Regions from separate parts of the Homo sapiens genome. Here regions 2 and 3 are each linked to region 1. The links are contacts of gene promoters, found by promoter capture Hi-C in human tissues and cell types (Jung and others, 2019). All regions are on one chromosome and are shown on one strand. The core of a region is centred on a gene start or on the middle of the fragment in contact, and the rest is flanking DNA. Distances in the headings are between cores, read along the strand shown. Region 1 holds the start of LRP12 (LDL receptor related protein 12). Region 2 overlaps ZFPM2 (zinc finger protein, FOG family member 2). Region 3 overlaps ZFPM2 (zinc finger protein, FOG family member 2).

Region 1 (2,700 bases), core at 45-2,544:
GGACCACAAGGGAATAAAAGCTGGCCACCACCAGCCAGCACCTGGGGTTCTCTTCCATGCTGTGGAAGCTGTCCTTTTGCTCTTCGCAATAAACCTTGCTACCGCTCACTCTTTGAGTCCGTGCCATCTTTAAGAGCTGTTAACAGTCACCGGGAAGGTCTGCAGCTTCATTCTTGAAGTCAGGGAGACCACGAACCCCCTGGCAGGCACCAACTCCGACACATTACTAGGCGCTAAGCATTGTGCTAGAGAGTTTGCTGTGGTATAGGGGCAACAATCTTTACTTTGGAATGAGAAAAACTGTTTCAAACAACTTACTTGCCATGAGTAATTTAATTTCTCTCTTTTCTATAAAACATGGGTAATATTTATCTCACAAGGATGTTTGGGATTAAAAAGTGACAACCTATGTCAATAGGACAGCATGATGCAGTGTAGGTCTTCAATGAATAGCATGGAGAGTGCTTGCAAAGGGCAACGATAAAATCTAATATAAATAAGACGTTGTAGACAAACGCTTTAAAAACACAGGGGGTAAGGTCTGATGTGCCAGCGTCACTACAGACGTACTTAGAAAAGTGTTCTGGGGATCTAAGTAAAGGAGGACTCCCATTTGCTGGGAGTGAGAAAAGAGCTTTAGGGAAACTGCAGCGTGATGGGCGAATCCTCCTTTCAATATATCTACCCTGAAAGTCGGCTCCAGCCCTGCCGAACATCCTGGCCCAGCTGCACCCGACCCAGCGTGAGATGTCAAATGACCTCTTGGCGCTTCCACGCCAGACTGGAGGGGCTCTGCACAAGCCTTGCCCGACTCATTCCGGGCACCTTGAGCGTGGGAGTCCACACTGCCCCTTGACCGACCAGCTGCCAGGTTGGCCGCACTAACTTGAGCCCACCCCCACTCGAAGCTCCGCGCCGACAGCAAGTGGAGACTTGGGGGTACCGGATAGAGGAAGGAACTCCCAAGTTGTCAGCTTCAGACCATCCACGCCTCCCCCAACACGGAACCACCTTCAGCCTCCCAGCTGGTATCCCACCCCCCCTCCCCCCACCCGCTGGGCCAGAGCCCAGCCCTCGGACAGCGACCGTGCTCCTCCACACACCCCGCGCTCCAGCCCCTGGGCATCCAGCAGCCGGCGTTCGCACGCTCTGTCATCGATTGGCGCTGCCTTGCTCCTTGGGCTCCCGTCGCGTGGAAATCGGCCCGAAACTTGGAAAGTCCAGCGGAGCGCGGGGAGGGAACCGAGGCAGGCGGGCCAGGGGATTGCCGATCGCACGGATGGGCGCGCGCTCAGTCTGGCGAGTGGCGGCGCCGGCTAGCCCGAGCGGCGCGAGGCCGGAGTCCGGCGTCCGCCACCCTCTCGTCTCGCGCTGGCGCGCGAGCTCCTTGCCCTTGCCCCCAGGAGGGCCGCCCCGCGTGGGGCTCTCGCACCGCCCGGGGTGGGAGCAGGCGAGCCGGAGGGAGGAGGGAGGAGGGAGCGCGCGCGGGCGGCGGCGGCCCCTCCCTTCCCCCTCCCGCAGCCGCGGAGAGCGCAGGGAGCAGCCGGTGGCTCGGCGGCGGCGGCGGCGGCGGCGGCGGCGTCGGCGTCGTCTACCTCCAGCTTCTCCTCCCTCCTCCTCCGTCTCCTCCTCTCTCTCTCCATCTGCTGTGGTTATGGCCTGTCGCTGGAGCACAAAAGAGTCTCCGCGGTGGAGGTCTGCGTTGCTCTTGCTTTTCCTCGCTGGGGTGTACGGTAAGTGTCCGCGTCCCCGCGCCCCGCTGACCGAACAAAGCTGAGGCGACCCGGGCCCCGAGGCCTCCAGGACGGGGGTTCCCCTGGAGACTCCCGCGGAGACCCTGGCTACCGGCGGGACAAAGACCGGTGAGGGGGTGGATGTGGCGGAACGGGTGTCCCCACACGGAGATGCTTTTCTCCACTCGTCCACCTCCAGACCCTCGGGTGGTGGAGAGGGGCTGGGGGGCCCGGCCGGGAGGGCCCCGGCGGAGCGAGGGGGTGGCGGGCGGACTTCCCGACCTGGGTTCGAGGGCCCCCGCGGCCAGTTGCTCCAGGACCCGTAGCCTGGCACAATCCACACACAAAGATGCTTGACTGTGAGAAAGCAGAGGAGCTCGCCCCCGCCGCTGCCGGGACGGTCCTTCCCCCCGCCCCCTCAACCCGGGGTTAGGAAGTTCTCTCACCGGCGAGATTCCCACCGCGCCAGCCCTTGTCCTACTCGATTCCCTGAAAAGGCTTCCCGCTGACTTCTCCCCACTCCACCTCGGGGGCAAGGGCTCTGCCGAATCCGGGCGTGCAGGGTCCTGTTGGTTCCCCGGGAGCAGCACGCGGGAGAAGGCCAGAAAATAGTTTCCAGCCCCACCTCAGTCTCTCCTGTTAGGGTGTACACATCTGTCCTGACTCCTAGTTCAATTGTAATTTCATCCATCCTCGTCCGCCGCTGTGGTCACTGTTACTTTATTCCAGTCGATGGATCGGGTTAGAGATAACTCCTTTCGGGTTAAGAGAAGGCTGAAGACTGTGCGGACAGCTTTATATTGCGTTGGGGTCTGAGCAAGAGCTGAATGGAATTAATTGCAAAGAACATCTATCTCTTAAGATAATTAAGTTACACTTCTGACTTCACCGTTCTTAGTTCATCAGTTAAACACACTGAATAGGTATTTCAGAGAGCTCAGTTTTAACCTTTCCTTTTTGGAGTGTT
Region 2 (2,711 bases), core at 162-2,661, 1.0 Mb before region 1:
TTCAGATATTTATTATACTTTCATTTTCCAGAAAGAATAGACTCATTTCTCTTTCCCTTTTGCCAACTTCACTCCCACAGCCTCATCTGTTCCCCACATACATTTGGCTCCGAAGAGGAACTACTCCCTCCAAACTGGCAATCATTAACTTCAACCTTTTATTTTATACAGCTCTGAAAGTCACAGGGTGTTTAAGGAGTGTTGTTTTGCTCCTGGCAGAATTTCTGGGCTTGCACCTAGTGCAATGTGCAAAAAGTGTGTCAGTGCTGAATCTCTGGGAAGAGAAAAGTAAATTGCTCTCGAGTACCCCTTCTTACGTAAGGCTGTCACATAAACCTGTGGCAGGGTTCAGGGATCCAGAGAGCTGTGGTACCAGCTGTGTGACCTGAGGCCAGTCACTTAACCTCTGAAGGTCTCAGCTTCCTTCTCTGTTAAGATGACCTCATATGTACTACAGTTTCATAACGATATTATTATAAGACTTTTTACTGTAGAATTCCCATCAAATCTCACTCAAATTCTGAGTATGGAGAAGAAAATATATAGGAAAGCTCAACACATTGAGCTTATACTTACTTAAGGAAGCTTTACTATTTGCATTGGCCAATTGCTAAATAAAGCCATTTTAACTTACTACATTTTGATATTTTAACCCTTTTAGAGAAAGTGATGTGACTAAAATAAAAACGCTAGCCTGAAGAATAAAAGGAGTATCTAACAGAGGTACATACTAACTCAACTGTGAATGCCCTGTTTAAACCACTATAAAAAAAAATACAGTGGTCAATTCTGTTCAACAGTCTGTATTTCAGAATTACCCAAAGGTATTCTGTGGAAGAGAGAAAACACTACCCTGCACAAAGTCATCTTCAGACGCTAAGATGTGTCCATCTTTCATGAATGAATCCACTGAAATATGTAATGAATCTCTCAGTCACCATTCAGGCTGACTTCTTTTTATTACTGTTTCAGCCAATCCTCTGCCAAAAAAGAGGGCAATTCTGAATCCCGATATTAATATAGTAAATTTTAAAAGCAAATATACAATTTTCTTTTAATTATATGTTGTTTTCATGATGTGTATTCTTATATCCATCTACAGACATAAACTATTAACTTGCTTATATCTCGAACTTAAAATATACCTGTTATTACAATATTTGAAGTTAATGGAAGAAGTCTATGGCAAAACTAGAAGAATGGAAATAAGAAGGGGATCCCCCTCCAAAGGGAAAAAGTGTGTGAAATTATTAAACTATATCATAGGTGCTGTGATAACTATAGTATCTTTTGGGAAGGCAGATTTTCTGAGACAAATTATTAAAAGTCAAGTTATTGAAAGTCAGGTGCAAAAAAAATAAAATCTTGGCAAAGTAGTTGGCAAAAGTGTGGAAGTGTTAGAGTAGCTGAACAAAGCTTATCTAATCTGTGAGACATTTTAGTAACAGAAATATTATAAATGTTTAAGTATCTAAAGTAAAACTTCTTCCATCAATTCAAATATTGTAATATCAGGTATATTTTCAGTTCAAAATATAAGCAAGTTAATAGTTTATGTTTATAGATGGGTATAAGAACACACATTATGAAAAGAACATGTAGTTAAAAGAAAAACTGTATATTTGGTTTTAAAATTTACTATATTAATATCAGGATTCAGAACCATAAGAGTGGTTTTCAGTTTTGTTTGTTTTATTTTGTTTTTGTTTTTTCACCAAATCAACAGATGCAGAAGGACTATACTAATTCTGCACTTTTACAGAGTAAAAGCCAAGTGCCCAAGTCACTTGTCTTCATTCTGGAGCCAGGCTGCTTCCTTGCTTTCCTTGGGAGTGACAATGAGAAAAGGACTTCAACCAAACAGATCCACTCAACATGCTCCCAACCCAAAGGACCTTTGTTCAGCATCTCTGTCAGCCTGGGGCAACTAATGGAGCATGCTAAGAAGTCAGAATCAAATGAGATAAACCTTTATTAATAGTGCCCCTGGAAAATGTCTTAAATCTTGTTGTTGCTAGTTTTCTATGGGATGCTCTTTATGAAAGGCAAGATCTCTGTGCTCATTGTAAACCTGAAATTTTATATTAAAATATTTAATTTCTTAATCAGGTAGATTTTGGAGAATATTCTCAGTCATAAGAGAAAATTACATTTTAGTAACTCCTTTCTCAATTCTCTATCCTATCACATTCTTTATAAAAATAATAGAAATACGAATAAAAGCATCAATGCGTATGTTGGAAAGGATTTGTAAATAATGCTAACATGACAAACTGATCAATTAAAAATTGCTGATTGGAAATACCAGTGAGTTAAATTCTACAATTATTTGCATGTGTGTTACACTGAAGTTTGGGCCAAGTTGTTTTATTTATTTATTTATTTTTGCCAGATAAATAATTCTTTTTGTTTTTTTTCTAGATAAATAATATAACCTTATATATAAAATAATTCCAATTAGTAATAACTAATCAGCATTACTTTTGGATTTCTCTATATTGTTTCTATTTTGAAAGTGTTATTTAGGTTATTCTGCTTTTAAAATAATCATTTTACAGGGATGCCCTCTTTCATGTGGTGCAGCACACCGACATGGCACATGTATACCTATGTAACAAACCTGCACATTGTGCACATGCACCCTAGAACTTAAAGTATAATAATAAAAACTAATAATAAAATAATCGTTTTACAATTTTAAAGAAATTAAG
Region 3 (2,700 bases), core at 111-2,610, 1.1 Mb before region 1:
AATTAGTGGGATTATTGTGCAGGGCTATTTACCAACATTTCATTAAGGAAACTCACAGTGATGCTGATATAAAAACAAATGTATTTTTCACATCATATAGCATATAGTAGTAATAACTAAAGACAATAAACTATTCAGTACACCCAGACTCAGATTGAAATAACATCAATAAATCACTAACATAACAGTAAAAACAGTAAATGCATAGTAAGAAATGGAAATGACACAAGGCTCACTATTTGCAGAAGTTGCTGCCATTCTGCAATTTGCAACAGACAGCTCTATTTTAAATAACACAGTCACTAGTGGGGTCACTTGTCTTGACCTTAAGAACCCCTTAGAAATGACAATTTGAATCAAAACTGTGGTTTTTAAAAAGCAGCCATTTTTACAATCATAGATTCCTAGGAAAGGAATAATAAATTGCTCACTCCTCAAAATATTAATAGAACGTAACCAGAAAAAGCCTCAGATGTTCATGAAACATGGGTTTTCGGCATCGCGTTATCCTGTGGTGCTCTGCAATCAATTACTGTTATACCACCATCATTAATAATTTTCTTAATGAAAATGATTCTGTTGATCTCCGTAGTATTTTAATTATCAGAGTTAAGCATAATTACACTGCAGCTCTGAGCTGGCATGTGGACTCCTTTAGGGCGCAATTTTGTTTTAACACACTGATAATGTAATTTTACATTGTGTCAGTTTGTTTGGTTATTATCCAGTTGTACAATTCCACTGTATTCCTGATAACAGATAATAACCTTAGTACCTCCTATATCCTGAAGTCATTTAAAAAGCAATATTGGAATTCTGCGACTAGCTAACTTAATCGCCTTATGATTTTATAATTCCCACTGCTAAATATTTAGTTCGGGCACTCACCCTCTTTCAAGAATACTGTAAAATTAGACAATGGTTATACATTTTCTATGAATTACTGAATAGTTAAATAAATGCGTAAAATATGAACGCAAATTTTTCCTTTTAAATTAGTTTATTATTTATACAACATTATACCCTCTAGGTAAAGTTAAACATTAACTTTTGGGCTACTCTGAAAATTGGCTGCCACATTAGACAAAGCTATTGTTTGAAAATTCTAGTAACATGCAACAGATTATCTATTTTAAGGTGGAACATGGTTCGGACTTTTACAAGAATCTTTGTAATGAAAGACATTTGTTTTGAAAATTTAATTTAGAGAGTGTGCAGAAAGTTACTTACTCAAGCTAAATCATACTAGAATTTCTGTCATTATTTCAATGGTGCCTAGAATAGGCCCTTGGACATAAAGGACATTCAAAAATGGTTAAATTAACTAATTGCATGCTTAAATTCATAAGAACCTTGCAAAATCAGAACTTTGAAGGCTGTCATAGTATGATTTTGAGATTGCTGTGCAGCCGTCTACATGATTTGAAATTGCTGTGGTCTCAGAAACAACAAAGAAATTAGCATAAACTATTGCTGCCACTGCTGTTTTAGTGTTTGAATAATCTCTTTAAAGTCAAGCCAAAGAATGGGAAAAAAAATTGCTGATAAATATGTATGCAAATTTGCAAAGAAAGGCAATAACCTGTAACCTTGGCTTAGTAAATGGCATCTTCCAAAATTTTGTTGATTGTACAATTGGGAATTGAAGTCAACAAGCTTAAGATTGAATCCCAACTTCTTCATTTTAACTTACTTAACCCATCGAAACCTAAATTTATTCATCTGTAAAATGGGAAAAGCACTGTTTCGATATCATGAATTTGTATTGTAAGCAAGAAAATGTACGTAAAGTGATTAGAACAGTGTCTAGAATAGAACAAAGATTAATAAATAGTAATTGCTATTATTAGTATTAATAATATCATCATTTTCATCTTTATACTAGCATTGTATATAAGACTTTCACTAAAATAAAAGTATCACGTGCCCAAGAAAAAAATCCAATGATATGCTCCCAGACAGGCTTCAGGTCTCTAATTCTGTGACACAGATCTCTGCAAATATTCTGTGGGTTCAAAGTGACTGAATAAGACTTGTAGAAGTCTTCGCTATAAATACGATATCACTATATGCTTGATACCAACATGGAGGCCTGGCTTCATTTTCTCTCAGTGTGTACTGACTTATGACCACAAGGACTGCTTGTATGATAATCAGCAACATAATATTGATCATAACCTCTGCAATCATGTAAATGGGTGCTTCACAAAAATCCTGCATGGTAGCCATTGCTATTCCATTTTCACAGCTGAGAAAATCAAGATTAGAGTGGGCAAGTGATTTGTCTAAGGTTACACATGAAATATAGATTTTTATAATAATATTGTGGCTTCGCATATAAAGAAATATTATGTTGTTGAGGTGAGAGTGAGGGTTAGCAGATACTTTTTCACTCTCTTGATTGACAGTGTTTATTCTCTTAATCTGGAGACCTAGAGAATGTGGCTACTTTGAAATAACAACTACAAGAAAATTGAAAAACTAAATAATGTAATTATTCCCGATTTGAAGCTGAGTGATTAAACCCACATGAAAGATGCTAAAGGTGTAATTTTAAATATCCTCAAAACGTAAAATTCTAAGTACACTATTTGTTTTTCATATGAAAAGGTCACCATACTTTGCAAACGGTAGATAGCATATAAGAAGGTAAGGTAAAGAAGTAGATCATCAGTGCTCAACAGACAGTGGATTTTAGGA

The links. Contacts are between HindIII fragments. The study calls those that stand out against the background at their distance.
Region 2: a fragment that was not itself captured here is called in contact with the fragment with the promoter of LRP12 in region 1 in 1 of the 25 tissues and cell types used here (hippocampus).
Region 3: a fragment that was not itself captured here is called in contact with the fragment with the promoter of LRP12 in region 1 in 1 of the 25 tissues and cell types used here (lymphoblastoid cells).

Annotation. Positions count from the first base shown.
Region 1 is chr8:104,587,852-104,590,551 of GRCh38, reverse strand. It overlaps LRP12 (LDL receptor related protein 12), which reads left to right and starts at 1,294. Exons shown (of 7, transcript NM_013437.5): 1 at 1,294-1,733. The coding sequence starts at 1,655. RefSeq lists silencers at 1,256-1,595, 2,026-2,135. The HindIII fragment of the contact is 16,882 bases long and covers 1-2,700 here.
Region 2 is chr8:105,621,812-105,624,522 of GRCh38, reverse strand. All of the region lies in intron 4 of ZFPM2 (zinc finger protein, FOG family member 2), which reads right to left. Among named protein-coding and RNA genes, the nearest start is that of ZFPM2, 300 kb to the right of the region's middle. The HindIII fragment of the contact is 3,807 bases long and covers 1-2,711 here.
Region 3 is chr8:105,639,141-105,641,840 of GRCh38, reverse strand. All of the region lies in intron 5 of ZFPM2 (zinc finger protein, FOG family member 2), which reads right to left. Among named protein-coding and RNA genes, the nearest start is that of ZFPM2, 320 kb to the right of the region's middle. The HindIII fragment of the contact is 3,692 bases long and covers 1-2,700 here.